7 separate regions of the Homo sapiens genome follow, and regions 2, 3, 4, 5, 6 and 7 are each linked to region 1. Evidence: promoter capture Hi-C in 16 types of primary human blood cells and fetal thymus (Javierre and others, 2016). All regions are on one chromosome and are shown on one strand. The core of a region is centred on a gene start or on the middle of the fragment in contact, and the rest is flanking DNA. Distances in the headings are between cores, read along the strand shown.

Region 1 (4,404 bases), core at 1,401-3,900:
ACTCGGGAGGCTGAGGCACAAGAATCGCTTGAGCCCTGGAGGCGAAGGTTGCAGTGAGCCAAGATCACGCCATTGCACTCTAGCTTGGGCTACAAAGTGAGACTCCGTCTCAAAAAAATAAAAATAAAAATAAAAATACAGTGAAAACATTGGATTTAGAAGGAGGACCTGAAATTTGAGTATTTAAAAAAGGAAAGATGGCACTCCAGGATGAAGGACATGAGCAAAGAAACATCAGAGTGGAAACATCTCTTCCACAGAATGAGTCCAGGATTGATGACGATTCTGGAATAGCAAAAGCATAAAATTTGTTAACATATGAGGATAGACAGTAGCATATACTTATTGTAGAGACCTTTGAGCTAACCGAGGGAAGTTACACTTCATTCTGGGAAGAAAGAAAAGTCCCTGAAAATATTAAAGGTAGGCGTGAAAGACACAACGTTTTGCTTCCTCTTAAAATATATCTGTACCAGCCGGGCGCGGTGGCTCACGCCTGTAATCCCAGCACTCTGGGAGGCCAAGGCGGGCGGATCACGAGGTCAGAAGTTCAAGACCAGCCTGGCCAATATGGTGAAACCCCGTCTCTACTAAAAATACAAAAATTAGCCGGGTGTGGTGGCGTGCGCCTGTAATCCCAGCTACTCAGGAGGCTGAGGCAGGAGAATCGCTTGAACCTGGGAGACGGAGGTTGCAGTGAGCCAAGATTGTGCCACTGCACTCCAGCCTGGGCAACAGAGCAAGACCCCGTCTCAAAAAAAAAAAAAGATGTATCTGTACCTATGAAAAAGGAGAAGCATAAAAAGAAAACAAAAGTCTCAAAACTGATGTATAACGATCTTTTTTATTTTATTTTAGCAACAGGTTCTCGCTCTGTCACACAGGCTGAGTGCAGCGGCGCGATCCTAGCTCACTGCAACCCTCGAACTCTCAGTTTGAGGCTGAAGCTCAAACGTTCCCCCCGCCTCAGCCTCCCAAGTAGGCGCGCGACTAGAGGCGCCACCAATTCCCGGTTGACATGATGTTTTAAAAATTTTTTCAAGATAATTATTGTTGTTTGCAAACTCGTGACAGCTTGGTAGTATGTTACTGAAGGATCAGGATCCAAAAATCACAGTACAGAGACAACGTAGACTTCCCATAGCGCTTGGCACACTTAAAACATCCCTTCAAGTATTAACCTTAACTGGGCTTGTCATCCCAGGTCAAATCCTCCGAAATAAGTAAACCACTCTAATTTCTTCTCTCCTAAGAGACTCTATCAGTGAAAGCTCACAAAAAAACAGTTTAAAAAAAAAAAAGGGGGGGTCTCGCCATGTTGCTCAGGCTGGTCTCAAACTCCTGGGTTCAAGCGATCCTCCCGCCTCAGCCTCTCAAAGTGCTGGGATTACAGACAGGAGCCACTGCGCCCAGCCAAAGACAGTTCTTAAAATCTACAGGTTCTTTAGGATATTCTGAGAATAAATATCGTTTAGGATTTCCCCAAAGGATTTACGTTTTGTTCTATGAAGAACCCAGTTCTTCCAAAAATTTCTACAACTGACGATTTGGAAATAAAAATAACGCTCATCTCATAAAACTTTGCACACAGATAGTATGAACCTCGTAAGCTTTGAGAACAAAATTTCCCCATCTCTCAAAACAAAACACCCAAACCAAAACAGTCAACCAGTGGCAAAAGAAACCGTCCTGTTTCCCAGGTAGGAAAAAGGAAGGCAAAGCACCCCAAGATGTGCTTTTATTTTAAATCTCCTTGATCTGACCAATCGGGTGAGCTGGAACCTCACGGCTGAGCCCCGAGTCCAACTTCTTCCCCGCCAGGACTACTCACTGTGGCCAGGCCCAAGCGCATGTGGAACACACGCCAACACAGGACAGGCTCAGCACGCCGGCCGCTTCCCTCGGGGAAAGGCCCGCCAACGAGTCCATCGCGTGGGAGAACAGTGGGAAAGGGTCGCGGCCCCGGCCGTCCGTAAAGGGACCCGACTGCCGGCGCAGGACGCGAACCACCAGCGCCGCTCCGCCGCCATGTGCCGCCGCTCCTCCGGTCCGAGATTATGTAACGAAGCCCGGCGCCCGCGAGCCTGCCGTACCCGCCACCGCCACCGCTCGCCCCCTCGAGCCCCATCCGTTGGCCCCGCGCACGCCCGGCCTAGGCCCGGCGCTCGCGGGGCAGAAGCCCCGCCGCCGCCGCCGCCGCCGCCGCCGCCGCCGCGGGTCCAGGCCGCGCGACCCGCCCTCCGCCGCGCGGGCCCAACCCCCTCCCTCCCTTCCCCCTACCTGAACGGGGCGGGTGAGCGCGCCGCCGCGGGCCGAGTCCACCGGGTCGCCAGGCCAGGCGCGAGCTCCTCCCGTGCGGGTCCGTCACAGCATCTCCCGGGAGACGTGGCCGCCACGGGCCGGGCTCACACCCCTCCGCCCGGCTGAAGCCGCTCCTCTGCGCTCCGGCCGCCGCCTGCGACCTCCCCGGCCACCTCAGAGCCACACGCCCCCGAGAGTGCCTTCGCGGGCTGTAGGCCTGCAGACCGCTCAGCGGCTAAAACGCAGTCGCTGCTCCCGCCGCGCTTCTGGGTCCTTCCCCTTGCAACGCTGCCTGCTCGCCTCGGACAGCGCCGGCCCCGCTCTGCGCATTACCCTGCGCCGACAAAACCGAGTTCCACACGCCCCGGAAGGGAGGGAGCAGAGGAAAGGGCGGAGAGGGAGGGGAGAACCGGCGGGAGATCGCGGCTGCAGGGACCAGAGTTCTCGCGATGGTTCCGCGCTCTAGCGCCGGCTCCGCGGGAATTTTCAAACTCTCGGTGAAAGAAGGAGGTGGGAGGGAAAGGGAGGAAAGAGAAGCAGGGCCTGGAAGGGCGGATCATTTACAAAAAAATCGGGTCTCTCCGCCTCCGAGGAGCTGGTGGGGAGAAAGACTACGAGTCCCACAGTGCCTTGCGCGTGAAGCCGCCCTGGCGGCCCCGGCGGCGCGCCCCGTGCGCAGTTGGGAGTGGTAGTCTTCGCTGGGGGTCGCGCCGGGCTCTGCCAGCCGCCTGCTGCGATTGCAGGCGGACTCTCTTGTCACGTAATCGTGTGGCCCTGCCAGCTGGGGGCCGAGTGATAATCTTTCTCCCATAATTGGCAGCTTGCATTCTGTATTTTCTGTTCTGTGCTCCCACTTTTCTTTTTTTCTTTTTCTTTTTTTTGGAGACGGAGTCTTGCTCTGTTGCCCAGGCTGGAGTGCTGTGGCACGATCTTGGCTCACTACAACCTGTGCTCCCGCTTTTCATGCCAAAGGTGGGCTCCCAGACTTCTGGGGAAACGCTTTTTCCACGGTGCTGTTTTTTCTAGCATCCTCCTGTGCTTTCATGGCCAAAAATGCTCGCGCAGCCTAGCCTAATCTTTTTAGTCAAAATTTTACCCCAAATCACTGTTATCTTTTTGGTCACCGCGGGTTTTCATTGTGGAATTTCTTATTTCTTGTTAGTATCTTCCTTTGAAGCAAATCCCAGCGCCAAACATGTTTCAAACAGATAGGGAACGTATCCTTAATACTAAGTAGTAAGTAAAAGGATTATAACATGAGGTAGAGTAGGGATTTTAAGAAGATGCTCTTTTATCAGGAAAGTTTCTACTTTTCTGTTACCTTTCATATGTGCTTTTTAAATTTTTTTATTTTTGAGACAGTGTCTCGCTCTGTCGCCCAGGCTGGAGTGCAGTGGTGTAATCAAGGCTCACAGCAGCCTCGAACTCGTGGGCTCAAATGATCCTCCTACCTCAGCCCTCCAAGTAGCTGGGACTATGGGCATGGACCACCATGCGCCACTACGTCCCATTAATTTTTTTATTTTATTTATTTATTTATTTATTTATTTATTTGAGACGGAGTCTCGCTCTGTCACCAGGCTGGAGTGCAGTGGCACAATCTCGGCTCACTGCAACCTCCGCCTCCCAGGTTCAAGAGGTTCTCCTGTCTCAGCCTCCAGAGTAGCTAGGACTACAGGTGTGCGCCACCATGCCCAGCTGATTTTTGTATTTTTAGTAGAGACAGGGTTTCACCATGTTGGCCAGGATGGTCTTGAACTCTTGACCTCGTGATCCACCTGCCTCAGCCTCCCAAAGTGCTGGGATTATAGGCGTGAGCCACCGCGCCCGGCCTTATTTTTTATTTTTTGTAGAGACTGTCTCACTGTGTTACCCAAGCTGGTCTCTACTCCTGGGCTCAAGAGATCCTCCTGCCTCAGCCTCTCAACGTGCTGGGATTACAGACATGAGCCACCATGCCCAGCCTATTTTTATTTTTGTAGAGACTGTGTCTTGCTGTGTTGCTCAGACTGGAGTGCATGGCTATTCGCAGGCACTATGGCCTCATCAGTGCCACTGCTGCCTCCAACTTCTAGGCTCAAGCTATCCTCCCACCTCAGCTTC
Region 2 (4,404 bases), core at 748-3,247, 2.5 Mb before region 1:
CATCATGTTTCATGATTCTCCCAAGCAGCACTGGGGAGGCCAGATAGTACCAAACAAATGATGGGAGATATTTTGTTGTTGTTGTTCTACTTCTAACGGAAACATACAATTTCCTTCTCAATCCAAATTTTCCACAAACCAAACTTGGTAAGTTATCTCCCACAAATGTATTAGTCTTATAATCACATTAACAGTTACACTAACTACCTCCTGCTTCTTTGCCAAACTCCCGTAACACTTATGATCCCAGTCACTCTTGTAGCATTTAACAAATACTTTTCATTATCATAGCTGTATATTCTATATTACTTAACAAAAAAATAGAATATGTTCAATTAATAGTTATATAAACAAAGGGCTGTGGAATCTCAACGTTGTTTCTGGATCAATTATATCCAACAGGGAAAACATTTAGTAATAAATCTCAGAGATAATTTTTTGAACTTTGTTTTTCCTAGAAATAAGTCATATTTCTGAGTTGGTAAAATGCTTTTCTGAACGTACATTTTTGGTATCTGGCACAGTCAACCAAATGTCTGTCCATTTTTGTGTAGCCTTTATACAGTACAGATTTCAGACATCATCCTTGCATCTGAATATTAAAAACATTTGACATTGTTTTTTTCAGTCCGCACAACACCCCTATGAAGTAGGTGGTACTGACTATTCCACAGATGGGGAGGCCTAGGCACGGAAAGGTTTAGTGGCTCCTCACAAGCCACGTGGCAGGGAGGCGGAGTGGCAGAGTGGCGGAGCGGCTCTCCAGCCACGTGCTGACACCGCCTTCTCATTCACACTTCCATCAGTGCCACAACACTGCATGGCAGGCTTTCAGGTTGAGGCCAATTTTTAAACCATTTTACTTCTGAAATATACCCTACCCCCCACCAACACCCCAAGAAACAAAAAACAGCATGAGTCCACAAGTAGCTACGTGGCAGGTTTCTTTGAGGAAAAGCATAAGCTTATAATGCCTTATATGATGTTCTTCTTATATTAAATACCAAGAATAAATGCAGGTTAATTTTATTAAAGTGAACAATATATGAAAGAAAATTCAATTGCAGTCACAAAACATCCCCTAATATAGTATATATTTTACCAATTTTCTTTGACTGTTATTCTTACATTAAGATGAAATACAGGCCGGGCGCGGTGGCTCACGCCTGTAATCCCAGCACTTTGGGAGGCCGAGGCGGGCGGATCACGAGGTCAGGAGATCGAGACCATCCCGGCTAAAACGGTGAAACCCCGTCTCTACTAAAAATACAAAAAATTAGCCGGGCGTAGTGGCGGGCGCCTGTAGTCCCAGCTACTTGGGAGGCTGAGGCAGGAGAATGGCGTGAACCCGGGAGGCGGAGCTTGCAGTGAGCCGAGATCCCGCCACTGCACTCCAGCCTGGGCGACAGAGCGAGACTCCATCTCAAAAAAAAAAAAAAAAAAAAAAGATGAAATACAAAGAAAATATTAAATAAGCTTCTTAATTACCAGGAAAAAATGTATCTCATCACAGAGCTATGAAATAAACTGGAACATCATGATAGAAACAAAAAGCAGGACTAAAATTCTATGTTCTCAAAGCTGAAAAGCAAAGTTTCTGATGTATGCTTTTAGTTTTTACCATCAATACATAGCTAATTTTCATTATTTTAATTAAGGTTAAAATAATAAAAACCAATTTAACTCTATTTTTTGTTCCAGAAAAGCACTACAGGTCAATAGCACATTAGAGTTTTGGAAAACAATTTATAAATGAGAACAATCCAGAACAAATGCTTCCTCATACCTTATTTTCCTATACAAAATTAACTCCAGGTTAGTTATAGCTTTTGTATGCTCAGTCCCCCTCCTTTTCCCCTACTTTGCAAATCATAGGAATCATCCCCCCAGCCACAGCAAACTGATCCAGGCAGGGAAACATGTTCCAACCTGAGCCAGTCAGCTCCTCTCCCTTGGGAATCTGAATTTGAGTACTGAGAAGGAAAGCAATAGCAGTCTGAGATGCCTGTCACCTACGGGAAGCATCCTAAAGAAAAAGGTTGCCAGTTCTAGCTGCTGAAATTCCAGGAGCAGGCTTCATCTCAGGCCACCATCCTGCTCTTCCTTTAAACAAATCCCCATTTTGCTTGAGATAGTTTCTTTCCATTGCTTGCAAACAAAGAACACAAATGATTCACAAAAAAAACTTACTACAACATAATATACACCTTGCTGAATTTACATCTTGTACTAGTGAAACTGAATATTAAAATGATTGCTAGATATTAATAACATTTTATGCTGTCAAGGACAATACTTTAAAGCATTACTGCAGGATAGAGGAATGATATAATAGTATTTAGTTATTCTGTAACTGTTCTCAGTTTTTCCATGCATTCCTTTTCTTCCTAATTTGATGTTTAGTTTAAGGAAGTCGGAAGACAAGTGTTTTGAATTTTCTTTCCATGACTCCTCAGAACCAGAGGCTGTCAAATCCAATTATAGAATAAAATTTTGGATCAGGAAATGCTAATATGTGTAAGCTTCTAGCTAAGAAGCTCCAAAGGTCCAGGGGAGGTTAAAAAAAAAAAAAGTTTGGAAAGGAATTAAATGATATTAGTTTACAAAAGTGACTCTTGATTCTTAACTTGGTTTCACTACTGGGCCTTCTCCTTCCCTAAATCACTCCTTTCTTCGCTCCCCCAAGTGCATTTCTGCTGTGGTAGAGAGATGAAGGCAGTGAATGATCCTCAGTGTTGTAAACCTGAAACAATGGTCTCTTTTCCAGAATACAGGCCCAAGTGTCAAGGGCTACCAATTTCATGCACAAAGCCCAGAGGCATTTTTCAGGCTAGTTAGGCCTCTGTGTCTTATCTTTGTCCTTTTGCTTTGAATATATGAACAACCTACTGTAATCACAGAGCTCAAAATGAACATCAGGAAGTCAGTGGCCACTATGGATTACAGGAGAGAGCAGCAGTGTCTCAGATCCCATGCCCCTGAACTATTTCAGCAACCAAAAAAGGGTTGCTATTTTTTTGTCTAATCTTCAAACTTCTTAAGAGCCTAAAAATCTTTGGAGTCAATGCTTATTATCTATGCTGCTTTCAGGGTAAAGATTGTAAGATCTGTGTCTCCTCCTTTCCAGATGAAACATGTTACCATTCACCAAAACTAAAGCACTTATCAATCCACAGCAATAAAGCAGTTATAAATGATGATTGTTCTTTCATGAAAGCATTCACATAACTGCAATTAGCTTATGATTCCAAAGTAGAGCAGGTTAAGTTACTACCAGCAAGTTGATCAAATTTAACTATGTAGCAGTAACCAGACACACTAGACAGCAAGAGAAAAAAATACACAGGGTATCTGAATTTCTTTCTAGCAAAGATATCCCAGCTCAGTTATCCATTAAAGGTTTAAAGGTATCCACTTTACTTTGCATGATTATAGTTACCTTCTAGTTTCATACACACATAAATGTCACAAATGATGAAAACCTCAGATACCTTATATTTTAGACCTAACATTACTATTATGAAATAACTTCTCACAATGAAAGTGGAAAGGGGCCTTGCCTGAGAGAATCTTAGGTTCCTAAGAAGCTTTAGACTCTGGGTACCAAACTCTAATATTCTTTCACACTCACCAAACCAGGGTCATAGATGAGGCCATAAGACATCCAACCAAAAATGTATAAACCAACGATGTCACACAGCTCTTTGTAAATGTTTGATAAAAATTCACCTAATTAAATTCATGAAAATATTTTCTTAAAAACACATTGAAATTAAACTACAGATTTCAAGTCAAAAAAGTTTTCTCAATAATAAAATTCTTCCTTTAAAAAAGATGTTAAAACTTAATATAGACAAAAATCTCATTTTTAGAAATCTCATGGAGCCTCTTTTCAAAAAAGAATTTTGTTATATGAATCAAATATAAATTTTGGTTCAATGTAAAGAACTATCCCATCCCAGAGCCAGATTAGCCACAGGAACTCCCCTTCATTTATTGTTCTTTTCATTGCTTTCAGCAGGCAATACTGAATGTTGATGTTTCTGTTGCTAAAAGTATTACAATAGTCACCAATTTTAATTTATCAATATGTAGCTCATCCACACTAATCTTTGGTGTCAACATCTGACACAGTCCCTGAGAGATAAGATAGCTGGATTCGTATCCAGTTACAGAAAGAAAGCTATTAAGTAAATATCAATTTATTGGTTCATTCTAGATTTGCTCTAGGCAACAGTTTTTCTTAGAGATACTTGTAAACATCCAACAAACCCATCCATTCCCACCAAAGTTAAAGAAACAGAATAATTTTGATCAGACACCACTGAGATGGTCTCATACACGTTTAAAAACTCATGCCTCAAAAGTAGAGCTGACAGGATACTATATTTACTAACTGCAATA
Region 3 (4,404 bases), core at 476-2,975, 2.5 Mb before region 1:
TCTAGACAAATCAGGATGTATGGTCACCCAAACTATAGACCTCATTCTCTATATTACTTTTCTTATTCAACACTTTCTACTTCATTTCTTCTTATCTGCCTAATTACTGGTGTAAATCAATTATATTTTATATACCCCTATTGCTGGACATATAGCTTCCTACCATCACAAACAATACTGGAATGAGTGTCCTCTATAGGTCCTTTTATGTATCTGTGTATCTGTGCAATCATTTTCCTGCTATATGTAGCCAAATAGAGTTGCCTGGCCATGGGAAATACACTTAATTTAACAAAGTTCCGCAAGATTGTTTCCCGAATGGCAGTTACAATTTATATTCTCACTCAATGTACATCTTCACCAAAATTTGGTGTTATTAAATTTCCTATTTTTTTTTTACCAATCTCATTATTATCCAGTGATAGCTATTGCTGTTGTTATTTTCAGTTTCTTTGATGACTAGTGATTTTGAGCATCTCTTCGCATATTATGTAGGCTTCTCCTTCTATTACCTGTTCATACCCTTTGCCTATTTTTCATTTAATTTTCTGCCTTTTTCTTACTCGTTAACACAGTGCTATCTACATTGCGTTGTAAAAATTAATCAAATGTTGGTTTCAAAGATTCAGTTATCTCAAGTTTCTGTTAACTTTGTTCATGGATACTTTACTGAAAAAAAAAAAAGCTGAATTTTGATGAGCCAAATCTCTCCCCTCCTTTGCCTTATGATTTAAACTTTTGGAGGCTCCTTTTTTTTTTTTTTGGAGACAGAGTCTCACTCTGTCACCCAGGCTGGAGTGCAGTGGTGCAATCTTGGCTCACTGTAACCTCTGCCTCCCGGGTTCAAGCGATTCTTCTGCCTCAGCCTCCTGAGTAGCTGGGACTACAGGTGCACACTACCATGCCCGGCTAATTTTTGTACTTGTAGTAGAGATGGGATTTCACCATATTGGCCAGGCTGGTCTTGAACTCCTGACCTCGTGATCCACCAGCCTCGGCCTCCCAAAGTGCTGGGATTACAGGCCTGAGCCACCGCGCCTGTCCAGGGCTCTTATTTAATAAAAATATTTGCTTACCCTGAACTGAAATGTTTTTATAATTTTAGTTTATATTTCTTATATTTTTACCTTTAAAATATAGGTCATAAATCCATCTAGAGTCTGCCTTGTATATAGTACAATAGGCATTCACATTACTTTTTTCACATAATGAACCAGAATCTATTAAACAACTCACTGTTCCCCTATTACCTTTCTCATGTCACCTTTGTTCCGTATGTAGATGAGTTGTTTGTGAACTTTCTTATTTGTCCTGGTGCCAATTCTACACTCTCTTAACTGCTATAGCTTTCTAATGAGTCTTCGGATCTGGTCCTGTGAACATCTAGTTTGTTCTTCCACAAGACTACTTTGGCTATTTGCGTTTTTATATAAATTTTAGAATAAGGCTGTTAGTTTTCACAAGCAAAAATCTGCTGAGATTTTGATTGGGATTGCACTTGGGGAGAACTGACATTGTTATCATAGTAACTGGTATCATTATGATATTGAATCTTCCAATTCATGAAGAATGATGTAGCCCTCCAGAGTTGATCTCATTATCTTCTTCCTAACTTTAGTAGATTTCTTCCAACATCTCCCAATTAAACAGATGCTCCCTTTTGGGCAGAGAGAGATACATTTCATTAAATTAACTAAGTATTCATTGGTTCCTAATTTATTGAATATGGTAAAAAATAGTCGCTATAAGTGATACTTATAGTGAATTGTGAAATGCCTTTTCACAGTCTACAGAAAAAAGTTTTTGAGTTTTCTCAGACTTGTTATCATAGTGAATCATATTAACATATTCACTTTTATTGTATCATCCTTGGATTTTGGGAAAACCCCACACGGTACCAATGTAGTAGTTCAATATGCTCTCAGGGACTATTGTTAATATTTTATATAAGATTCTTTTATCAATATTCATACATGAGTTTGCTCCACAGCAGTTATCTCAGTGGGGATGCCACTGAAATTTTGAGCAGGAAAAATTTTCATTGTATGGAACTATCCTTTGCTTTGCAGAACAGCTTGCTTCCCTGGTTCCCAAACACTAAGTAGCAGTGACAATCCTCAGGGATTGTGTGACCTGAGATACTCTTCCATATTTCCAGATGCCCTCTAAGGCAGGCAGAATCCAGCCAGTACACACTTGGGTAGCATGCTGCCTGGTATTCGCTTGGAACTGTCAGTGTCTGTGCTGTACAACTTGTTAAACACTTGTCATATTATCCCTGTCTTTAAGGGAGCGTGTAGCAGTCAGGGGTCAGAGGACAGCAGTAACCACTCTAGATATTTCAAGCAGAAATTTATTTGCTACAGGAAATTAGGTGCTCACCAAACTGTTGGGAGGGCTAGGAAAGCAAGGGTCTTAGAAACCCCCACTAATTTTTAGGTTTATCAATAGTCAAAAAGTTGCTGTTGCCACCAGAGATCAGGACCTGGAGGAAATAGGTGCCCATGTCACAAGTCTCTCCCAGTACCTAATGAGGGATGGTGCTCAATGGAAAGATGGGACAGAGGCCTTCCCCAAAACCACCTATCTTTGAAGCCTGGACTTTTGGTACCACTGCCTGAGGAAGAAGAATGGCTTCCTCTTTTTTACAAGTTCCAGTCCACATCTGATTTTCAGTCGTTCAGAACCCTTGAGGGTTCCTGGTTTCCAGCTCCTGCAATCTAGGGATAGCCTAGAGTTATGCAGGAATGAATGATCATGGCTGAGAATACAATACACAACAGTCAATTCCTAGCACTGTGTGGTATCACTCGTAAATTAGAATCAGGAGTCTTTAGTTAATTTTTACTAAATAACTCAACAATTTCTGTTGTGTTTTCTATCAGTGTTGTGCTCCCTTTATAAATAAATAAATATTTATAATTTGAACCAGGCCCAGATGGTTTTGTGTGGGAATTCTACCAAATCTTTAAGAAGCACATCATTTCAGTATTGTTTAAATTTTTCTAAAGTATAAAAAAGAAAGGAGGAAAAGACCTAAGGGGATATTTCACAAAAAAGGATGTACAAATGACCAGCAAACTTATGAAAAATTAGTGAAGTGTGAATTAAAATTACAGGGAGATGTAATTACAAACCAATCAGAATGCCTAAAATTAAGAAGACTGAAGATAACAAGGGGTGGTAAGAATGTAAAGCAGTAGGAACTCTAATACACCACTAGAAGGAATGCAGGTTGGTATAACCACTTTGAAAACCTGTTTGCTATTATCCAATAGTGTTGAATATATACGTATCCTGTGACACACTAGTTTGACTCCTAGGTATACATCCAGCACCAGAAGACCTATGTAGGAACGGTTACGACAGCATTATTCCTAAGAACTCCAAACTAGAAACAACCCAGTAGCATGTCAATCAGTAGTATAGAGGGATAAATGCATTTCTGTGTATTCACATAGTAGGATACTATATGGCAAATGAAAATAAGTGCATTGTGTCTACATGTCAACACAAAACAATATGGATGAATCTCACTGTACTCTGTGAAAGTAGCCATACAGAAAAGAACACATTCTGTATAAACTTTATAATATTCCATACCAGGCAAGAGGAATCTATGTAATATATATTTTCTTTTACAATTGTGTTTTCAAATTTATTGCTATTCATTTGTTTATAATCTTTGCTTACCATTTCAATATCTATTTTTAGCTATTTTATGTCTCTAATAGAGTTTATTTGGGCACTTTATCTTCCTTTCCTGGACAGTTTTGCCATGTATTGGACCATTTTATTGTTTTTTTTTTTTCTTTTTTCTTTGAGACAAAATCTCGCTCTGTCACCCAGGCTGGAGTGCAGTGCGCAATCTTGGCTCACTGCAACCTCTGCCTCCCAGGTTCAAGCAATTCTTCTGCCTCAGCCTCCCGAGAAGCTGGGACTACAGGTGTGTGCCACCACGCCCGGCTAATTTTTTGTATTTTTAGTAAAGACGGGGTTTCACCATGTTAGCCAGGATGGTCTCAATCTCCTGACCTCATGATCTGCCCAGCTTGGCCTCCCAAAGTGCTGGGATTACAGGCGTGAACCACCACACCCAGCCTTATTGGTCTTTTTAAGAATCATCTTTTTTATCTCGATTTTCCATTATTATTTTTATGTAGGTGGCAGAAATGGTCCATCTTTAATTCATAAATGACCACCAAAACAGCTATGTCATTTTAGAAATGCAAATTGGACCCTAGAGTTTGATTATCAGCAAGAAAGGTAGATAAAGGGCAAGAGAGTAATATTACAAAACCAATGATATTGCAGCTGATTTGAAAGTGATATTAAGAGAAAGGAAGGGGCCTAGTGTTGTGGCTTATGCCTGTAATCCCAGCACTTTGGGAGGCCAAGGCAGGT
Region 4 (4,404 bases), core at 737-3,236, 2.3 Mb before region 1:
GAAAAGCAAGCTGCAGGGAAGCATCTATAGTCTGATCCTATTTTTATGCAAACAAAATAAATGTTGTGTGATTGAGAACATGGAGGAAAGCATGGCAGTGATATGGACGGGGGACAGGGAAGTGCTGGGTAGAGAAAGGCAGGTCCCTGGCTAGGGATCCGCCCTCAGGCCTGTGCCCACGGACCTAGGTGAGGATAGGCACTCCTGCCTTCACACCCAAATGTTGTATTTCCCAAGAACAGCCTGGCCTGCCACGACCCCATCCTGTGCCTATAAAAACCCCAAGACCCTAGTGGGCAGAGACAACAAGCGGCTGGACGTCGAGAGGAACACACATTAGCGAAAGAACACACAGGCGGCTGGACACCGAGAGAAGCACATGGGCTGGAGAGCACAGCCGGCAGGCCATTGATCAGCGGAACCACGCGGAGTTTGGGGGTTTGGCCGGGACGGTGGGAGGAGAGACTGGCTGCCAAGTGCCCGACTCCAGGGGAAAACCATCTCCCTTCTGGCTCCCCCATCTGCTGAGAGCTATTTCCACTCAATAAAACCTTGCATTCATTCTTCAATCAAGCCCACGTGTGATCTGATTCTTCGGGTACACTAAGGCAAGAAACCCAAGATACAGAAAGCCTCTGTCCTTGCAATAAGGCAAGGGCCTCATTGAGCTGATTAACACATGCTGCTATGGACAGCTCAACTGAACGAACACCCTGTAACACACACCCACTGGGGCTTCGGCTGTAAACATTCGCCCTTAGACATTGCCCGGGGTCGGAGCCCCACAACCTGCCCGTCTGCATGCTCTCCCAGAGGTGTGAGCGGCAGAGAACCAAAGAAGCAAGCCACACGCCTATCGCATGCCCTGCCAGGGGGATAAGAGAACCTGCCCCGTTTCAGCAGTATACGTACCATTGTGTGTGCAGGCATGCACGTGTGTGTACACGACAGGGGGCGTGGGGCTGTATCAAGAGATGGAGATGGAGAGAGAGAGAAACAAGGCCCTCCAAACTGGGGTGAAGGGGAACAATAGAAAAGCAGCCTGGAAAATGTTCTTTCTATGTAAACCAATATGTATGCACGTAAAGACAAAGGAAGTCACCAAACTTCAAATGATGTCATTTTTTGAGGAAAATATTTTTTAATTGACATAATAATTGTCCATATTTATGGGGTACATAGTGCTGGTTTTATACATATAAAGTATAGTAACCAGATCAGGTAATTAGCACATCCATTATCTCAAACGTTTGTCATTTCTTTGTGTTGGGAACATTCAATATCCTCCTTCTAGCTATTTGAAACTCTGTATCATTATTAACTAACGGTCATCCTACAGTGCTATAGAACAGGAGAACTTCTTCCTTTTATCTAGCTGTAATTTGTATCCTTTAACACAGGGGTCCCCAACCCCCACCAGAGCATTACCGCCTGAGCTCCAACTCCTGTCGGATCAGTGGCATTAGATTCTCGTAGGAGTGCGAACCCTATTGTGAACTGCACGTGCAAGGAATGGAGGTTCCAAACTCCACATGAGAATCTAATGCCTGATGATCTGTGGTGGAACAGTTTCATCCTGAAACCATTCCCGCTCCCCACCTTCCCCATGCCCTGTCCATGGAAAACTTGTCTTCCACAAAACCAGTCACTGGTGCCAAAAAGGTGGGGGACCACTGCTTTAACAAATCACTCCCTGTCCTTCCCTTCCCCCTAACAAAATGATGTAATTTTGGATGCTATTTGCTTTCTTCCTACTTCCCACCACATTGTACTTAAATGTTTTAATTAATCATAAAAAGTAAAGCTGCTCTTACTGTGAGCAAAGAGCTGGGAAATGAAGAAGTGGAGGCAAGTACAGACAACTCTTTCAAGAAGTTCCCCCCACCTCACTTTTTTTTTTTTTTTTTTTTTTGACAAGGAGCAAAGAAATGGCAGGCACCTGAGCACAAGTGAGGTCAGGAAGAGGTTACTGAATATGGGTGGAAATAATCCAGTAGCTAGGAGAAACTGATGATACAGGAGGAAAGAGGTAATCGCTGGATCAAAATCCTCGAGTCAGCAAGAGAGAATTAGATCTTGTGCTGAAAACTAAGAATTGAATATTTCGTGAAAGTTCATTACTCATGAACTCTGGCTTCCCTCCTGTCACAGTGGTAAGTAGGCTCGCAGGAAGATCAGTGGTTCCTGGAGGCCATGAGATTGTCCCTCACAAGTCTCCCACTGCAGGAGTGTAATTGACCCAGAGCATCAGCTGCTGCCCTCTGAAACTCATCACCACATTTGCACCAAGCCTGCAGCCCCTCAGGCTGTTCCCCACCTGTGACCGAGTGCAGTGAGGAAACTAAGGAAGACCCAGTGCTGGTAGACACAGGACTCTTATCAGCCTGGCTCAAGGACTCCCGAAGGTGTTACCAAACCTTCCTTAGATTGCACAGCAGTTTAGGCAACTCTATCCAATCTCAATCTGCACCATTTCTCTCCCGCGCTCTCTCTCTGGTAAGTCTCTCAACTTCCACAGCTCTTTATTTCCTTTCACACAAGTATTTCCCTGCATGAAATCCTTGCACATTGAATCCCATGTTAGTAACTGTTTCTCAGAGGACCTGGATTAGCACAAGTCATAAGTGAGCGGTCTGAGAAATCAGGCAGTCAGATGGTAATTTGGGACTGGCTCACCCAGCACCCAGAAGGCAGACAGGAAGCCATCCTAAGGGATATGTGGTCAGCGATAGTCCTGGGCTGTAGGTGGTGGTTCAGTTTTTAATGTTTTCATTGATAGTGACCCGAGGAAATGTCCTGGTGGAGGGGAAAGCTATGGCAGGTGCAATGGTAAAGGGATTTGAAAAACATGGGGATCACAAAGACATGATTGAGTTATACTAATGACCTGCACAAAGTGGAGACCGAGAGCCATAGCAGCTAATGGAGATAAGAATAAAAAGCAGTGTCTCTTATAAAGAGGTCATCGTCACCAATAGTAAAAAGGCAGACACAATTGAACACTAAGCTGAAGACCTGGGAGTCACAGGGCTCCAGAAATGTTTGCACACAGCTACTTTAGGTCTGTTACTGGGCCGTTGAGGCCCTGGTAGAGAAAACTTTTGATCCTAAAAACTAGGACAGGAAAATCTGGATGGATGCCTCTGAAGGTGTTGAGCTCTGCAACCTCCACCCCTCCCACCCGCCTCTGGGCACGCAGAGATGGCCCACTGCTCCCTATTAAGGGTTAGCCCTTTTGCTGTACTACAAGATGCTGCAGAAGCCTCGGCCTCACAGGGCAACAGGTGCCCCCCGACCTACAAGGCTGTTGGTTAATGTCTACAATAATAATAACAAACAAGAATGAAAGAAGAGGCTGAGGGACATTGCCCCAGTAAAAAGTCATGGTCCCTTGCTCAGTCCCGAGACCCAGAGTACATTTTCAGACCCAGAACCCATTGACTGAAGAGGCGGCCAGGTTCCCAGGAAGAAGGATCCTGCAACACTGTGGCAAGTATTATATATACCATGACAATTCCCCCAGAGACCTGTGGCTGTTTACTCAGGTGACTTTCCTGGGGAAAGAGGAATAAGCAGACATTTTGAGGACTATTACACACAGGTCTCAGTTGACATTAATACCCAGAGACCCAAAGTGTCATCAAGCCTCCCCTTTAGAGTGAGGGCCTATGAGAGCCACAGTGGCTCCACCCACCCCGGGGCCTCTCCCAGTCTCCAAAGCACATACTTAGAATTATATACTTGGCCGTGGGAGTAACGCCCACATCGAGGCCCTTGGTTTGTGAAGCAGGAGCAATCAGAGTGGGAAAGGCCAAATAGAAACCTCTGAAACTGGCCCCTCCACAAACCCCGACAAAGTGAGAAAACTGTTATTCTGGCGGGTTGCAGGGGGAGGCAGATATTATTACCATCATTAAAGACCTAAAAGATGCAGGGTTGGTGGTCCCTGTTGTATCTTTGTTTAATCGCCAGTCTGCAGAAAACAGATGGATCCTAGAGAATGACTGTTGACTCCCGCAGACTCAACCAGGTAATAGCACCAGTTGCAGCTGGTGTGCCAGATATGGTGTCACTGCTAGGGCGGATTCATCAGACCTTGGGTATACGGCATGCAACTACTGACTCTGCAAATCTGTTCTTTTCCATCCCAGTGAGAAAAGAGGATGAGAAACTGTTCACATTCACATCAACAACAATATTCAATGATCTACCTATTCTATGGAATTTCTAAGTAGATATCCTCATTTAGATAACTAACAAAGCAAGTTCATGTCTGGTCTGATCGCGGTAGAACAGATGCCATGGTAGACTAGATGCCTGGGTGCCATGTTGTTGTGGCATCAATGTTGTACCCATTAAGAATGGAAAAGGCACTAGGGAAGCTGACTGCCCAAGTTTCAACAA
Region 5 (4,404 bases), core at 1,198-3,697, 2.3 Mb before region 1:
TTTTCTTTTTTTGTTGTTGTTTTGTTGTTGTTGTTGTTGTTTTGAGACAGAGGTCGCCCAGGTTGGAGTGCAGCAGCGCCATCTCTGCTCACTGCAACCTCCGCCTCCTGGGTTCAAGCAATTTTCCTGCCTCAGCCTCCAGAGTAGCTAGGACTACAGGCGTGCGCCACCATGCCCAGCTAGTTTTTTTGTATTTTTAGTAGAGGCAGGGTTTCACCATGTTGGCCACACTGGTCTCAGTCTCCTGACCTCATGATCCACCTGCCTCGGCCGCCCAAAGTGCTGGGATTATAGGCGTGAGCCACCGCACCCGGTCGGATTTTTCTTAAGATGGGATGTACTTACACTTTCCGTTTGTTGACTGTCGAATTCTCTACAAGATTATTTGAATTCCAAAGCAACATTATTGTGTAAATGTCAGCCAGTTGGTTCATAAAATGTAAAGTGAGAAACTGCCAAAATAATCTTAAACTGTAAGAAAGGCAAAAATAATAATAAAAGGACAATGGGATGCATGAAAATAATTTTGTTTTAGTTTATCTGGAATGTATTTTGGTATAGATGTGACAGTAACTTAAAAACAATAAATTAAAAATCAACTAATTGGCCCCACATTATTTGAAATAAGTCTTTCCTCTCTAAATTGTGATGTCATCCTTAATCATAATACTAAATTCTTACCCATACGGAATTGTTGATTCTAGCCTTATTACCACACTGTTTTAATTATTATACTTTCACGTTATATTTGGAATCTGATTAGGCCAGTTTCCCTTTACTATTATTCCAAAGCTTTATTGGCCTTCATTTCCTTTTCTAGGAGTACTTTGTAAGGCTCGCTGAAAAAAATTCCATAGGTTTTTGTTTTGTTTTAATTGTGTTAAAATACACATAACATAAAATTTACGTTTTTAACTATACAATCTACTGTGTTAGGTATATTCACATTTTTGTGCAACCAGTCTTCAGAACTTTTTTATCTTGCAAAACTGAGACTCTATACCCACTAAACAACAACTCCCCATTTCTCCCTCCCCTCAGTCCCTGGTAATCATCATTCTGCTTTCTGTCTCTGTGCATTTGACTAGATAACCTCATTTAAGTGAAATAATACAGTATTTATTTTGTGACTGGCTTATTTCACTTAGCATAGTCCTCAGGGTTTATCTATGTTGCAGCATGTATCAGAATTTCCTTCCTTTTTAAGGCTGAGTAATATTCCACTGTGTATGTATATGCCACAGAAATCAAGCTAATTTTCTTTTTTTTTATTATTATACTTTAAGTTCTAGGGTACATGTGCACAATGTGCAGGTTTGTTACATATGTATACATGTGCCGTGTTGGTGTGCTGCACCCATTAACTCATCATTCACATTAGGTATATCTCCTAATGCTATCCCTCCCCGCTCCCCCCACCCCACCACAGGCCCCAGTGTGTGATGTTCCCCTTCCTGTGTCCAAGTGTTCTCCTTGTTCAATTCCCACCTATGAGTGAGAACATGCGGTGTTTGGTTTTTTGTCCTTGTGATAGTTTGCTGAGAATGATGGTTTCCAGCTTCATCCATGTCCCTACAAAGGACATGAACTCATCATTTTTTATGGCTGCATAGTATTCCATGATGTGTATGTGCCACATTTTCTTAATCCAGTCTATCATTGATGGACATTTGGGTTGGTTCCAAGTCTTTGCTATTGTGAATAGTGCCGCAGTAAACATACGTGTGCATGTGTCTTTATAGCAGCATGATTTATAATCCTTTGGGTACATACCCAGTAATGGGATGGCTGGGTCAAATGGTATTTCTAGTTCTAGATCCCTGAGGAATTGCCACACTGACTTCCACAATGGTTGAACTAGTTTACAGTCCCACAACAGTGTAAAAGTGTTCCTATTTCTCCACATCCTCTCCAGCACCTGTTGTTTCCTGACTTCTTAATGATCGCCATTCTAACTGGTGTGAGAAGGTATCTCATTGTGGTTTTGATTTGCATTTCTCTGATGGCCAGTGATGAGCATTTTTTCATGTGTCTTTTGGCTGCATAAATGTCTTCTTTTGAGAAGTGTCTGTTCATGTCCTTTGCCCACTTGTTGATGGGGTTGTTTGTTTTTTTCTAAATCAAGCTAATTTTCAGTGTCATTAGACACAGGTTACTTCCATCCTTTGGCTGTTATGAATAATGGTGTGTGAACATGGGTTTATAAAAATAAAAATGTCTATTCAAGTCCTGCTTTCGATTTTTTTGGATATATACCCAGAAGTCCATAGATTTTTTTAATTGGGCTTGCACTAAACTTATAAATTAACTTGGGAAGAACTGACATCTTTTCTATCATATTCTTCCCTCCACCCCCATTGATGAAAACAGGATGTTTTTTGTTTTTTGAAATTTTTATCCAGAAAATAGTTAAATAATGCCAAACTCATCTATCTAAACTGTCTATTAAACAGAATAAAGCTAATAAAATATATATGAGATAGTAAGTGGTAATTAGTGCTAAAGAGGAAAGTAAAGCAAAGAAGGGGAGGGACAGTGTAAGTCAGGATGGTATAGTTACCGGTTACTGCAGTTTCAAAGAGAGTGGTCAAGAAAGGCCTCACTAAGAAGGCATTCCTGAAAGGTGAAGTATACCATGTAGAAAGGAGAAAGTGTTCCAGACAGAGGGTAAGCAAACATCAAGGCTGTAAATCGGGCCACATGCTACCTGTTAAGTAAATGTACAGCAAGAAACAAGAGAAGTTTTTAAGGAATTGTTGATTTAAGTTCTCAGGTAGATTCAGTAGGATCATTGAAAATAGAACAAGCAGTACCACCAGAAAGGGAAAAATCTGGGATTAGGATAGATTCCACAAAAATGAAAAGCACCATTTCCTAATTTTTAACTAGAAAGGGAGTTAGATTGGGAACTAAAGAGAAAACAACAAGATTTAGAAAGTCAGAAATTCAAGTAGAAGGGTCAAAAGGATCAAGTGATAGGCAAAACTTTTTAAAAGTTAGGACCATTCAACCAAAGCCTGGTTTAACTTGCAGTTTTTTTTTTTCCTTTTTTTTGACATGGAGTCTCGCTCTGTCGCCCAGGCTGGCATCCGTCTCGGCTCAGTGCAAGCTCCGCCTCCTGGGTTCACGCCATTCTTCTGCCTCAGTCTTCTGAGTAGCTGGGACTACAGGCGCCTGCCACCACGCCCGGCTAATTTTTTGTATTTTTAGTAGAGACGGGGTTTCACCATGTTAGCCAGGATGGTCTCGATCTCCTGACCTCGTGATCCGCCCACCTCAGCCTCCCAAAGTGCTGGGATTACAGGCGTGAGCCACCGCACCTGGCTGCAAATTTTAAGAATAAAGTAAAAAATCCTACAAATACACAAAGGCAAAAAAGTTACACGGGAACAAAATCAGGCTAATTTCAGACTTCTCTTTGCTTATACCAAAGGCTGAATAATAAAGTAGAGCATTATCTACAGAGTATTAAAAGGGAAAAGATTTATGTCTGAATACTATAGCTTCTCCAGTTGTCATTCATGTACAAAAGGACATAGACAATATGTAGATACCTTTCTGGGGGTTAAAAAATTATTCAAGAACTTGGCCGGGCACGGTGGCTCACGCCTGTAATCCCAGCACTTTGGGAGGCCAAGGTGGACGGATCATGAGGTCAGGAGATCGAGACCATCCTGGCTAACACGGTGAAACCCCATCTCTGCTAAAAATACAAAAAATTAGCCAGGCGTGGTGGCGGGCGCCTGTAGTCCCAGCTGCTCGGGAGGCTGAGGCAGGAGAATGGCGTGAACCTGGGAGGCGGAGGTTGCAGTGAGCCGAGATTGCGCCACTGCACGCCAGCCTGGGCGACAGAGTGAGACTCCGTCTCAGGAAAAAAAAAAAAAAAAAAAAAAAATTATTTAAGAACTTAACAATGGGGTGGTTACACTAAAAGGAAAGGCCATGGCCATCAATACTCATTTAACATAGCTAAATCTTATAACTGTGGTTAAAAACAGGGCCAGTGTCCAGAATTACTCTTTGAAGAGAACAAGCATGATGATTTTTAAAAATTAAGTTTTCAGGTTATGTTGAACAAACCTTGGGTGAGAGAGAAGAGGTAAAAGCTTGTAGCAGCCCTATATAGAAGGACGTGTGTTGTAAATATACTTAATTCTTGTTTTGGAAGATTATATTTGAGTGTATGTGTTAATTTTTTTCATTAAGATGTATTATTGGGAGAAAATCAAACCTACAGGGAAAAGAGCAACGAAGACGTAATCCATATGGTGTAATAGAAAAAACAGAGAAAAGTTCAATATGAAATGAAGTCAAGGCCAGGCACTGTGGCTCAGGCCTGTAATCCCAGCACTTTGAGAGGCTGAGGTGGGTGGTAGTGGGACCTTATCTCTACAAAAAATAAAT
Region 6 (4,404 bases), core at 332-2,831, 2.1 Mb before region 1:
CTGTAATTTGTTAGTAAAGGCTAATAGTAGAGATTAAAGCTCCGTTGAGGACAGGTGCCTTGTCTTTAACACGTTGTATTCATCACATTTAACATAGGAGTAATTGCTGAGGGATGACTTGATTGTACTACGATGAGATGAAGGGTTAAGATTTCTTCCCCATCACCAGTAGCCTCCCTAGCTGGTGTCCCTGTCTCCATACTCTCCTGAATCCACCTTCCACTATTGTCCGCTGGCCCTTTCCAGCCTGTAAACTGGACAGTTTTCATTCCTCTGCCTAACATCCAGTCGTAGCAGCCCATCCTATCTCTTTAAGGATAAAACCCAAATTCTTGGTATAGTAAAGCTAAACCAAGCGCTCTCCCTGGAAGGGCTCCTGTGTTTCACCAAAGCTGACTTACGTACTTTCCCCATCTTCCCAGGCATCTTGTACGTCGTTACATTTATCATATTGGAAGGTAATAAATGATCTTGTTTTCCTCTTTTCCTGGGCTCCTTATTAAGAGCAGGGAACCTAATTTATATCCTCAGGGCAGAACAGGTATTCAGAAAAGAATAATGCAAGAGGAAAAAAGTTTAATATAAACTAGGGAGATCGTAACATTGGCTAATCACGAGCAAATATTTATAGAAGACCCACTGTGTGCTAAATGGCTCCTAATATATACTTAAGATATTCTCCCAGCTTGGAAATTCTGCTCACTTCTTGCTCTTGCTTGCTTCTCTGGTGGGCTTCCATCCAAATTTGGCCATGACATCAGATCATATGGTTAATATTAACAAATATTGTATAAATTGTTTTCATACTTAATATCCAACAGGTTGTCAGTTTACGTACTACTGGTGCCTTATCTGTTTTTACTGTCCCATACACTGCCCATCTGGAATAAGCTTAGTGTTTAAAAAAAAAAAAAGATCTTTGCATACACACAGTAAATCCTAGATTCAGTTTTGTGATAAACACTGGAATCCTGAATGGGACTTTTGGTAGGAGATAACTGCTGTTTTTAAAGGTCATAAAGGTGGTTTAATCCATTGGAAATTAAAAAAAAAAAACTTAAAAGAGGATCAACATTGACCTATTTAACTGGCCCATCAGTAAGTAGCAAAACAATACTGTAGTTGTTGAAATGAAGATAGTTATAAGCCTCAAACCGAGCACAGTCAGAGGTGGGAGGCCAAAAAAACAAAAATTGCTCATGAAACAGTAGTACCTATCAGAGCCCATCAAAAAGCTAATTAAATTAATAGAAGCTATGATGAATTAACAGCCCAAGGTGCTGTCAGAAAGGAAGCCTGCGGTTATTTTTTTTAAAAGAATTTGTCAGTGATCATTCCAGCACAACCCAGGGAGGATTATTTTATTATAAGAATTAGCAAACCTAAAGTAAAAATGGGAGTTACCAAGCTGGCATACCTTGATAGAACTAGCCCCTAAAAACTGTCCTCTGCCACATTCTTGTCCTTTAAGAAACTTTAAAATGTGAAATTTGGTACATACAGGTAAATTCACATTCAGGTAAATTCTTAATTCACCCATTCAAAAAATATTTAGAGTACCTACTGAGTATTAGACACTGAACGAGGTACTAGACTGATCAAGACAGGAAAAATCCCTTTAAGGAGCTGACATTCTACTGGAGGAATCAATAAGCAAGACTTCTACTGAGCCAGTCATGCAAAGATCCAGGAGAAAGGCAGCATGTGTTCGTTCGGTAATAACCATCTCGGCTTGTTAGAATGGCAAGGCCACTGTACCTGGACTAGTGGACAAGAGTAGGATATGAAAGAGCATGGGATCATGTAGGGCCTTTGGAGCAATGGTAAGGATTCTGAGCATAATCGGAGGCTACAGAGGACTTATTATAGTCATCTGATACACATTTTTATGAGTAGAATCAAGATCTGAAAGGTACTGTTGATAGATGGTAATTTGATAGGACAGGTTGAGCTTCCCAATTCAAAAAAAAAATTGTCTTTTGATGTATCAGTTTCAGATTTGGGATGCTCAACCTGTATTAGCAATGAAGTTGGTGGGCAGTGGTCTGGCTCAGGATGTATTTAGAATGTGGATCCTTCCAGACTTGCTAATATATTTGATGTGGATTTGATGAAGGAATCAAGGATGACTCTTAGTTTTTGGGTCTGAAAATTGGTTGAGTAGTGTGCCATTAAGAGGAAGGTTTGGAGGTGAAAATATATTTTGCAAATACGAGGTTCAAGGTGCTTTTTATACATAAAAGTGTCATTCATTAAGCAGATGAATGAGGCTGAAGCTTGGGAGAGATTAGGGTTTGATTTAGAAATCTGGAGTCATCATATAATGGCATTTAATTGAAAGCCTTGGGATACCTAGGAAGAGACTAGATTCCAAAGGAGTTAAGAGTGGCACTTCAGAATCAGGTCTGTAGAGGAGGGAACAGCAACAAAAATGTCAATGAAATAGAAAACCAGGAGACGTATTTGAAGCCAAGTAAAAGTAAAAAAGTTTCAAAAACAAATGATAATTTGTGCCACATATGCTGAGATGCGGATTTAGACTGCAGTGGATGTCTTTTAGAGGTCTTGACTGGTGTCAAGTGAAGTTCAGTGGATAGATGCCTCACTCAAGTGAGTTAAAGGGAGAATGGGAGGTTTTAAGTAGAAAAGCACACCTACACTCAGAAGTTTTGCCCCAAAAGGATGGTGGTTTAGGTGGCTGATGAGAGGAGAGGGGTGTATAGAGGATTTTTGGGTTTTTTTTTTGAGATGGAGTCTTCTTGCTCTGTTGCCCAGGCTGGAGTGCAGTGGTGCCATCTTGGCTCACTGCAACCTCCGCCTCCTGGGCTCAAGCGATTCTGCCTCAGCCTCCCGAGTAGCTGGGATTACAGGCATGTGCTACCATTCCTGGCTAATTTTTGTACTTTTAGTAGAGACAGGGTTTTGCCATGTTGGCCAGGCTGGTCTCGAACTTCCGACCTCAAGTGATCCACCCACTTTGGCCTCCCAAAGTGCTGGGATGACGGGTGAGCCACTGCACCTGGCCAAGAGGGCTGATAGTAAATTATTGCAAGTGAAAAAACTAACGATGCAAATGAAAGGGGTAGCTATAGAAGCCAAGCCCTTGAGTATGCAAGAGGGGAATCAAGTGCCCAAGTGGGAAGACTAGCATTAGATAGGAATAGGGCCAATTCATCCTTTGCAACCAGAGGAAAGAAATACGGGCACTGAAGCAGATTTAGTGGTGGAAAATCAACTGTCTCTAATTTGATCAGATCTATTTCTATACATTATTGACATTCTGGCTTGGAAATCTCTTGAGCTTTCCTTAGATTGATCAGGGTGAGCTGGTAAAGCTGCTTTTCTAAATCTAAGCTTAAAAAATGTCTGACATTTCCTTAATTTATTTTTAAGGGTTCCCGTTTGTTAGTGGCAAAGAGTTAAATCTTAAGTATGCAGGCTACTTAAGGAATAGAAGAGAAATGTTAAAGGCATGTATATTATGAACAGAATATTTCCGTATATAAATAGAATACTTCAAAGGGAGTTATGCCCGGGATCCTTTATTCATCTCCACTTCTGAGCATTTTACAGTTCAGTGTACTTAACTGTAAAGGTATACAGGCTCAAGTCGTTGCATATTCTTCCTGTTTTGATAGAAATTGCAGGGATTTATGTACTGAATCTTATTACTCCTTAGATATGTGACAACTGGAAAGCTCCCCACCAAACCCTCCAGCCTTGGTTACTTCTTAATGATGTGGTTTGGCACAATGAAAATGTCATAGGCTTTGTGGTGAAACTGACTTCTGCCTCCACTCCTGCCAACACTTATTATTAGCCTCTTAAGTCCCCGAGCCTGTTTCAGAGGTAATCTCACACAAAGGCTAGAGAATTAAAAAACATGTAGAGAGCCTGGCACTAATACCTACCTCCCCCACCAGCAGCTCTTAATTATGAGATCAACCACTATTATTTTAGACCAGAGTTTTGTTGGGGATTGGGTTTGTTTCAGAAGGCACTATTTTAAATAAGATGTGTAGCTTCTATTTAGATATTTGCCTTTAAAGTCAGCTGAGCTATTTTCCTATTGTTTGCAAATTTACTTTTATTTAAAAAAATAAAATTTCCTAAAGCAGTGTTTCCCCAATATGACAGTCATCAGAAAAAACCACCTAGAGTTTTCTAAACATAGATTCCAGTGATTGTAAATCAGAATCTGAGAGTGGGACTAGAAAATACTTAATTCTATCCTGTGGTACAAGCTGGTCTCACACTTGCATCTTTGCACCTAAGACTAGATCAAACTGGTACTAATCCTCTGGCCCCAGCATCCCATCCTTGGGGAAATAGTCTAGTTTAGAGGTAGTCCTGGACTGGAGCGCTAAGTCCAGCATTCCTCACCTGCATAACACTACCCACATG
Region 7 (3,201 bases), core at 331-2,830, 2.1 Mb before region 1:
TCATATCTATATGTAAAGCAGGCAACATTTTATAATTTAAATATTACCTTTGTCCATTATTGCTACAAAAACAGGGTCACTTAAACTATGTAACAAGACCTTACACTTACTCAATTCTTTTTAGCTGCTAGATGTTAAGAGCTCAAAAACACTACGGAAAAAAACAGAAGCCTAGCCAGTGGAAGGCAGTTTACCCTCAGAGTTGAAAGAACCAACTTAATCTTGCCTTTCCTCCCATCTCTTTAAGATACTAACAAAATGGATAGAGACAAAGACAAAAAGTTTACCTAGAATACCTCCCGGTCTATAATTTTTCTTTTCTTTTTTTTTTTTTTCTGAGACGGAGTGTTGCTCTGTCGCCCAGACTGGAGTACAATGGCACGATCTCAACTCACTGCAACCTCTGCCTCCCAGGTTCAAGTAATTGTCCCTGCCTCAACCTCCCGAGCAGCTGGGATTACAGGAACCCACTACCACACCCAGCTAATTTTTAAATTTTTAGTAGGAACGGGGCTTCGCCATGTTGGCCAGGTGGGTCTCAAACTCCTGACCTCAGGTGATCCATCCACCTCAGCCTCTCAAAATGCTGAGATTACAGGCGTGAACCACCATGCCCAGCCTCTCCCAGTCTATTTTAAACACTGAGATCAGGCCCTAAACATTTTACTTACCATCATCTTATCCATAATAGTATTTGTGCCAAGAATGTTATATTTCCCTGGATTTTCTGCTGCATGTTTAGTAACCCAGGTAGTTTTTCCAGCTCCTGGCAAGCCAATCATCATCACAACCTAGTGAAAAGAAAAGAAATGTCATTTCACTGTCAGTAGACACCACCTAATAATTCTTTAAATATTGTTAAGGCCAATTTAAATATCTAAGTTTTCATAGCCCTTACACTAACGGACAAAAATTTGTTTATGGAAAGATTAACAGTCAACATAAGGGGGAAACAATTACTTAAGAGCAATATGCACAGCACAAAGTAAATGAAACAGACTAATCATCTAGTTCTTCTAAATGTCATTTTGTGCCAGGCAAGCAATATTCAAATGCCACAGTTAAAAAAAAAAAAATCCCTTACTTCACAATCTTTCTTCTCTTCAGGCCCCTTTGGTCCTCTAACTCGATCCTCTAAGGGGACGTTCTGGATGAAAGTATACTCTTCAGGTATTGGAAAATATGGCTTTTCCTTCTGACCAAAATTAAATTCAACTGCACAGTTGTGGCAGAGAACATGCGGGAACAGTGGCCGTCCAGCAAGAACTTCCTTACTGATTTTGAAGGCAACGCCAAGATCTTGTCCATTCTTAGCATACGAGAGTTCTACTTCATCACTTTCAAAGTTCTGTTACACAGAAAAAAATTCAACAGTTAAAATCTGCTTCCTTAAACTTTCTAAAAAACTAAGAATTAAAATTAGGAGCAAAGCTTATCCTGTGGAAGCTACAGGTTAAAGAACTATTAGGTGGCCTTTAAGGGCTACACAGTTAAGAAATCTGATGGTTGTAAACCATGAAGCACGTATCTCCAGAACCAGAAACAATACTGACCTAGAAGCTAGACTGAATTTTCTAGGTCAATTTCATGTTCACTGTTTTCAGTCAAAATGAATTAGTGAGTTCCTCAAAAATGTCCTGTGTTTTCCCAATTCAACTGCTGAATGAAGTCTTTACACTAATCCAGGGACTGGTGTATTTTGTTGCTCATATTGAAAACTGACCTCAGTAAAGCTTCTTTAAAGTTCCTAGATATAGCTACTAACTTTGCCATTTATACATAGAAAGTTAGCTTTAACTTACAGCAAAACATGTAATCACATCATTTTCATCAAACTTTTCTCCATAATCTTCAGTCTCACAGTTGCATGTTTTTATTCCTTTTAGAGAATACCCATAAGAAAATTCTTCTTCACCTAAGAAAATAATTAATCTTCATGAAGTAGATGTTTAAAATAGTCCAAAGACTCATCTATTTTACTACTTAAGATGTAGGCTACAAGAGAAATAAGCATATAACCTAATCACCTGTCACTGACACTATTACTTTTCTATCTCTGTACCAGAATTGATGGAAGTTAGGAGGGATATATACGCAGAGACCAAATTAGTTGACGATTTGCATATCACGGGTAAGATTTTATTTCAACCATTGGTCATAAACTTCTAATAAAGGAACAAAAACTAAAATGTAGCCTGTGCCTACTATGTGCTAATATTACCTGTCTGAAGTATTAACAGAATAGATAAAAACAGACAAAAGGCTTAGAATGCCCTCTAGTTAAAAAACACTGAAATCAGACCCTCCTGAACATTCATGAGCCCACATCAGTCAAAAAGAAGCTTTACCAAGTAACATTCCACTTGTAGTTAGTGACCAGCCAATACGAACTTCATGTATGTCAATATCTTTTGTATATAAATGCCTTACTGGGATCTTCTCTGTAACCTGAAAGTCAAATCATTAAATAATTAAAATAATACACCAAGGAGGTAACCCCTTAACTCTCGCATATTTCATTGCGCCACGGGCTAATCTTCCTCTAGCTATAAATACAAAGAAGGCACACTCTAGCCCACCCCCAATATTTGTAAGAACTTTAAACTGATGTGCTTATAACTTGAAATTTAAAGAGTTAAATACTTATTTGACCCATATTTAAAAGAATACTTAATATTTTTAAAGTTCATGTTGTCAGTCTTTAACTTAAAGCCAATTAAAGGATACAATTAATGTTTTTCTCACCAACAAAAGCAGTAATGTAACCAAATTTTATTTTTAACTCTTTGGTGGCCCTTTCAAATGCTTGATAAAAATGAAGTACCCTAAATAAAAAATCGCCTAGCTCTGCATGGCAAGTTCTAACATAACAACCGTGATTAACTGTCACAACAAAATGAAGGTTCCAAGCTCCTCTTTTAATTTACAGGAAGCTTCAAAAATAAGTACCTTTGATAACTTAGCAGTATGAAGCACCTGTAATTCCAGCATTCTGAGAGGCTCAGGCGGGCAGATCACTTGAGCTTAGGAGTTCAAGACCAGCCTGGGCAACATGGTGAGACCTTGTCACTATTTTAAAAAGGAAAAAAAAAGGCTGGGCACAGTGGCTCATGCCTGTAATCCCAGCACTTTGGGACGCCGAGACAGTGGATCACCTGAGGTCAAGAGTTGGCGACCAGCCTGGCCTACGTGGTGAAACCC

What was found. The method cuts DNA at HindIII sites, captures the fragments that hold promoters and counts their contacts. A CHiCAGO score of 5 or more calls a contact.
Region 2: a fragment that was not itself captured here is called in contact with the fragment with the promoter of AHCTF1 in region 1 in 3 of 17 cell types (total CD4 T cells, non-activated CD4 T cells and fetal thymus); the score reaches 6.9 in total CD4 T cells.
Region 3: a fragment that was not itself captured here is called in contact with the fragment with the promoter of AHCTF1 in region 1 in 2 of 17 cell types (non-activated CD4 T cells and fetal thymus); the score reaches 8.1 in non-activated CD4 T cells.
Region 4: a contact is called between a fragment that was not itself captured here and the fragment with the promoter of AHCTF1 in region 1, in 1 of 17 cell types (non-activated CD4 T cells). The highest score is 9.5, in non-activated CD4 T cells.
Region 5: a contact is called between a fragment that was not itself captured here and the fragment with the promoter of AHCTF1 in region 1, in 2 of 17 cell types (fetal thymus and total CD8 T cells). The highest score is 5.8, in fetal thymus.
Region 6: a fragment that was not itself captured here is called in contact with the fragment with the promoter of AHCTF1 in region 1 in 2 of 17 cell types (fetal thymus and non-activated CD4 T cells); the score reaches 8.8 in fetal thymus.
Region 7: a contact is called between a fragment that was not itself captured here and the fragment with the promoter of AHCTF1 in region 1, in 2 of 17 cell types (fetal thymus and non-activated CD4 T cells). The highest score is 6.0, in fetal thymus.

The regions. Positions count from the first base shown.
Region 1 is chr1:246,929,298-246,933,701 of GRCh38, forward strand. AHCTF1 (AT-hook containing transcription factor 1) reads right to left here and starts at 2,651. Exons shown (of 36, transcript NM_001323342.2): 1 at 2,281-2,651. RefSeq lists enhancers at 1,774-1,863, 2,984-3,033 and a silencer at 2,204-2,303. The HindIII fragment of the contact is 4,479 bases long and covers 1,609-4,404 here.
Region 2 is chr1:244,443,090-244,447,493 of GRCh38, forward strand. The region is part of intron 1 of ADSS2 (adenylosuccinate synthase 2); the gene reads right to left. Among named protein-coding and RNA genes, the nearest start is that of ADSS2, 6.6 kb to the right of the region's middle. The HindIII fragment of the contact is 1,046 bases long and covers 1,475-2,520 here.
Region 3 is chr1:244,464,290-244,468,693 of GRCh38, forward strand. All of the region lies in intron 2 of CATSPERE (catsper channel auxiliary subunit epsilon), which reads left to right. Among named protein-coding and RNA genes, the nearest start is that of CATSPERE, 5.2 kb to the left of the region's middle. The HindIII fragment of the contact is 6,278 bases long and covers 1-4,404 here.
Region 4 is chr1:244,642,327-244,646,730 of GRCh38, forward strand. No RefSeq gene overlaps it. Among named protein-coding and RNA genes, the nearest start is that of DESI2, 8.6 kb to the right of the region's middle. RefSeq lists an enhancer at 396-949. The HindIII fragment of the contact is 7,093 bases long and covers 1-4,404 here.
Region 5 is chr1:244,660,150-244,664,553 of GRCh38, forward strand. All of the region lies in intron 1 of DESI2 (desumoylating isopeptidase 2), which reads left to right. Among named protein-coding and RNA genes, the nearest start is that of DESI2, 9.2 kb to the left of the region's middle. The HindIII fragment of the contact is 3,314 bases long and covers 791-4,104 here.
Region 6 is chr1:244,836,063-244,840,466 of GRCh38, forward strand. The region is part of intron 1 of COX20 (cytochrome c oxidase assembly factor COX20); the gene reads left to right. Among named protein-coding and RNA genes, the nearest start is that of COX20, 2.6 kb to the left of the region's middle. The HindIII fragment of the contact is 1,385 bases long and covers 890-2,274 here.
Region 7 is chr1:244,856,927-244,860,127 of GRCh38, forward strand. HNRNPU (heterogeneous nuclear ribonucleoprotein U) reads right to left here. Exons shown (of 14, transcript NM_031844.3): 5 at 2,349-2,448; 6 at 1,803-1,915; 7 at 1,085-1,348; 8 at 672-791. Among named protein-coding and RNA genes, the nearest start is that of SNORA100, 4.3 kb to the left of the region's middle. The HindIII fragment of the contact is 302 bases long and covers 1,430-1,731 here.